2 separate regions of the Homo sapiens genome follow, and region 1 is linked to region 2. Evidence: promoter capture Hi-C in human tissues and cell types (Jung and others, 2019). All regions are on one chromosome and are shown on one strand. The core of a region is centred on a gene start or on the middle of the fragment in contact, and the rest is flanking DNA. Distances in the headings are between cores, read along the strand shown.

Region 1 (2,700 bases), core at 95-2,594, 68 kb before region 2:
GGACACAGTTGGAGAAACTGGTTATTTTACCAAAGCTTTAACTTGAATGGTATGCTTTCCTTTAAGGAATCAAACTTGATTTATGGAGCCAATAAAGCCACTTGGGAAACTGGACTCATAGTTTTGTCCACCTGTGGTAGGTAAAGAATGTCACTTTCTGACAGGCCCAGGAGCCCCAAGTTTACTTTGGAACCTCAAGGGGAGAGGATCACCCAACTCATAGGTATTTAATGGCACAAATCCATGGCTGAGCTCAGCTTTAAAACAGTCTTATCTGAGATTCCTCCTGTGAACCCAGAAAATGTGAGACAAGTTCCAGAAAATCCGAGACAGGTCTGTCTTTCTTTCTTTCTTTCTTCCTTTCTTTCCCCTTCCCTTCCCTTCCCTTCCCTTCCCCTCCCTTCCCTTCCCTTCCCTTCCCTTCCTTTCTTTCATTTTTAGAGGGAGTTTTGCTCTGTCGCCCAGACTGGAGTGCAATGGCACAATCTCCGCTCACTGTAATCTCCACCTCCCAGGTTCAAGCGATTCTCCTGCCTCGGCCTACCAAGCAAGTAGCTGGGATTACAGGCATCTGCCACCATGCCCAGCTAAGTTTTGTATTTTTAGTAGAGACGAGGTTTCGCCATGTTGGCCAGGCTAGTCTTGGACTCCTCATCTCGGGTGATCCGCCTGCCTCAGCCTTTCAAAGTGCTGGGATTACAGGCGTGAGCCACCGTGCCCAGCCAGGTCTCAGTTAATTTAGAAAGTTTGTTTTGCCAAGGTTGAGGATGAATACCGGTGGCACAGCCTCAGGATGTCCTGACAACATGTGCCGCAGGTGTTCAGGGCACAGCTTGATTTTATACATTTTAGACAGACATGAAACATCAATTAATATGTATAAAGAACTACATTGGTTTGGTCTGGAAAGGTGGGACAACTTGAAGCACCCACCTGCTTCGAGTTGTCCAGCCTTTCTGGATGGAACCAATGTGCTTTTTACATATATTGATAAGCCATAGCTTTTATATATATTTACAAACCAAGCTGTGCCCCGACCATCTTGGGGACATGTTGTCAAGGACTTTCTGAGACCGTGTCATGGCCACATCCTCCACCTTGGCAAAATAAACTTTCTGATTTAACTTGGACCTCTCCCAGATTTTCTGGGTTTACAAGTTCATGGTCTGGCTTATTTCTTCCTTGCTTAGGCCAAATTGAAATGAAACATTTCTGAAAACTAACAGGGATTGGCTCTTAATGTTCTTATGGGGTTTACAATGGAAATAATTACAGATAACTGACACGTGAGACTTAAATCTGGAAGAAAAGATTAAATGGGTGTGGGTATATTTGAATTTTAAATGAATAGGTGCTTCTGTGTGGCCTGACTTGGAGACAGCGGGCCAACCTAGTGTTCGCAGGAGATGTTTTCCATGATGCAAAATAATAGGAATAGAACACACCAGCTAATAATGTTCATGTTGTATTGGAAGTTTGAAGGAAAATTAGAATTATTAAATAGGCCTGTACTTTATCTTCTGTAGTACAACACTTTCAATTATATTAACAGATACTCTTTTTGAACTGTGACCAAGACCCTATCTGCTTCTTTCCAAAATTATGTTTCAGGCCGCACGCAGTGGCTTATGCATGTAATCCCAGCATTTTGGGAGGTGGAGGGAGGCAGAGGCAGGCAAATCACTTGAGCCCAGGAGTTCAAGACCAGCCTGGGCAACATGGCAAAACCCCATCTCTACAAAATACAGGAAAAAAAATTAGCCAGGCATGGTGGCATGTGCCTGTAGTCCCAGCAACCCAGGAGGCTGACGTGGAAGGATCACCTGAGCCCAAGGAAGTCAAGGCTGCAGTGAGCCATGATTGCACTACTGCACTCCAGCTTGGGCGACAGAGCAAGACCTTGTCTAAAAAAAAAAAAAAAAATTATGTTTCAACTGGAAGAGAACTAAAGGTATGCAGGGAATGTAGGGTGTCTGTTGGGCCTTTTGGACAGAATATGCTTTGAGAGGATTTGTTGGGGCTATTCCAAAAGGCGGAGTCCTCTGTGGAAAACCAGATCTGTTTACAAGGAGTATGACAATTAACATTTGCAGAGAGAGTTGGTCCGGAACCCATCAGAATGGACCACTCTCGCTCACTGCTTCCAAGTCTCAGGTTACCATGTGGTAGTGGCCAGTCTGTCTCTGTGTCTCTGTCATCAGTAAGAGTTTCCCTCACCATTCCACACAAGCCACATGAGCCTAAAAAATGTAGGGTAACAAAGTGGGATGACAGTAAACCTGAGTGGGGTCACAGAGGGATGGAGACAAGAGCCAATCCAAGGAGTGACTTTGGGTTGTTCATATCAATGCTTAGTATATAAGTCTTATTACGCAATATCTCTTCAGAGTCCCTTCACCAAAGAAGTGCATTCTATAAGCATTGTAAATAAATGCAAAACAGCTTATTTGCAAATCTGAGTGCAGCCTGTTTTCTACTGTATCATATAGGCTTACCTAATTTTTCCCTTTTTTCCACTTCCCATTTCATTTGTTATTTTATAGAGGGTGAATTGGGGTTTGTTTTTACTCTTTCTTTCGTCCTTTATTATTATTTTTTTTTTTCAGAGATGAGGTCTCACTATGTTGCCCAGGCTAGAGTGCACTGATTATACACAGGTGCAATCATAGCTCACTGCAAACTTCTGTCCTCAAGCGATCC
Region 2 (2,500 bases), core at 1-2,500:
TGGGGAGAGGAGATGCAGTCAGAGACACGTCGCACTTTCCCCCAAAACCGCCCCTTCCCCTGCACCTACATTGGGAAAGTCCAGGCCCAGCTTGAATTTTTCATTCAGCCACTGGCTTCTGTCATAGTCAGGAGCTGCCGTGGGGAAGAAGAAGTGAAAACAAACCTCCCCAGAGCCCAGCCCTCCTTCCCGGGGACCCTCCCAAGGAACCAGTGGCAAGATCCCTGAGACAGGTGGATCTAGAATCTGACCACTCAGTCCCACATCCCAGGGTTCAGGGACAAAGAATCCCGCTGAGGGCTCTGGACCCCACACGGCTAAGGCTTCCAGGGTTTAGGGAAGCTCTGAGGGACACCCAACCCAATTAAACAGGGGGCCCAGCATCCCGCCCCAGCATTCTGCCTTGCAAGGCCACAGGACTCCCTCACCGGGGCTCAGGGAAGGGACAGCCTGCAGCTCCAGCAGGGGAGGCCTGCAGAGGTAGCCACAGGTGGCCACCATGGGTTGCTTGGTGCCAACTCAGCGTGAGTGGGCAGAGCCCGGACACAAGGGTGTCATTACCGTCCCCCATCGTATACTTCTTTTCCTCGTAGCTTGAGTCTGTGTATTCCAGGAGCAGGCGGATGGCGTGGGCCAGCTGGAAGAGATGGCCCGCAGGTCGTGTCAGAGATGGAGGGTCCCTGACTTGGTGACTTTCTCTGCACCAGGTGAGCCCCTAGTCTACACTGCACTGCACCCCCCCCCCACCCCGGCGCACGCACACACACACACACACACACACACACACACACACACACAGGCATGCACAGGCCCTCCTGTGAGAGATAGCCCTAAGGAGGGAACCGTCCCTAGAGCCGGTCCCCAGCCGCTCGGCACTTCCCGCCCACGCGCCCGGTCCCACAGTGCAGCGGACCCTCACTCACCCCGCGGATGTCCCAGTACCCCAGTGTCATGGACATGATGCTGGTTGGTGTCGATTCTGCAGACAGGCCTCAGCTGGGCTGAACTGCGACCTCCTCTGGGGTTCCCGGCACGCAGGGGCTGGACCTAGCGCCAGACCCGCCCCCTCGGCCCCGCTGCGCCCGCCGATCTTCAAGGTCGTCACTTCCAACCGGCCGATCTTCAAGGTCGTCACTTCCAACCAACAGGCGCGGGAGGCACGGAGCAGGTTGCTGGATCCTCACTGGCTGGAAGGAGTAAGATCCACCGCCACCTCCGAGTGTTCAGGGAGCAAGGTCCGGAAGCACTAGGAGGGGCTCGGCCTCGCCAGCTTCCGTAGCCCCGCCCCGCCCCGCTCCGCTTCGGACCTCTGCTGGGTCCCCAGGGACTCGGCTGTGCGCGTGAGAGTAAAGCCAGATCGTAAGAGAAAAGTTCTTCCCCCGTTTCTTCTTCTCCGGACGTCGCCCAGCCTTCTGCCTCTCGGCTGCCGAGTTCCCACAGGCTCTGGGAGACTGAGGCTGCCAGGGTCAGACTAAAGAGAGGTCTCAGAGAGTTTAATTCAACACTTCTTGGCTACTAAGTCTTAGAAGTCTGATGGTGTGCTCTCTCTGCTGAGTTGGGGAGCGTGAATGGAGGCTATGTCACCGAAGCTGATAGAGCTCAGTCTCTGTTGCAGATGCTCCCGACCCTTTTGCATTGGGCCAGTTCCCCAGCTCTGAGACTGGGTCCAGGCTCAGGAAGTGGCCTATGTGTCAAGGTGGATTCCCATGTAGGTTTGCCTACAGCAAGACGATAGCACCATGCACACACAAGTGCTTGGACTTCTGAATAGTTATACTTCTCATTATACATTAAGACATTAAGAATGTGTCATTCTGAGTCTTTTTTTTTTTTTTTTTTTTGGAACGGGGACTCGCTGTGTTGCCCAGGCTGGAGTGCAGTAGGGCGATCTCGGTTCATTGCAACCTCCGCCTCCCGGGCTCAAGCGATTCTCCTGCCTCAGCCTCCCGAGCAGCTGGGATTACAGACGAGCGCCACGACGCCCTGCTAACTTTTTTGTATTTTCTGTAGAGATGGGATTTCACCGTGTTGACCAGACTGGTCTTGAACTCCTGGTCTCAAGTGATCCACCCGCCTCCGCCTCCCAAAGTGCTGGGATTACAGGCATGAGCCACGGTGCCTGGCCTGTCATTCTGAGTTTATCCATCTTGAGCTGGGAAAGATAAAATGTCTAGGTCCAATTGTGAAGATGATTTTTTAAGAAAGCTAACACTTATGAGAATAATTATGAAAGAAACAGAATTGATATTGTTACATTAGTATTCACCCATTTGGTCATTCCTTTATTGAAACAACAGTTGTTGAGATCCTACCATATTCCAGGCACTGGGAATAAAACAATCCTTCAAAAACACTGTACTTTGGCCACCTACGACTAGAAGTCAGGTGGGAACTACAGGGGAGAGATTTTGAAAATACGGGACACTTCTTACTGTTTTTGCACACTGAGAGGCAGTGGAGTGGGAGAGGGGTTGAGTGTAGGAGAGAGAAGCGGTGCCTG

The links. The method cuts DNA at HindIII sites, captures the fragments that hold promoters and counts their contacts. A contact is called where the count stands out against the background at its distance.
Region 1: a fragment that was not itself captured here is called in contact with the fragment with the promoter of GSTM4 in region 2 in 2 of the 25 tissues and cell types used here (IMR-90 fibroblasts and bladder).

The regions. Positions count from the first base shown.
Region 1 is chr1:109,722,789-109,725,488 of GRCh38, reverse strand. No RefSeq gene overlaps it. Among named protein-coding and RNA genes, the nearest start is that of GSTM5, 12 kb to the right of the region's middle. The HindIII fragment of the contact is 5,225 bases long and covers 1-2,700 here.
Region 2 is chr1:109,654,849-109,657,348 of GRCh38, reverse strand. It overlaps GSTM4 (glutathione S-transferase mu 4), which reads right to left and starts at 1,250. Exons shown (of 8, transcript NM_000850.5): 1 at 924-1,250; 2 at 562-637; 3 at 70-134. The coding sequence starts at 959. RefSeq lists enhancers at 24-609, 1,483-1,532. The HindIII fragment of the contact is 7,232 bases long and covers 1-2,500 here.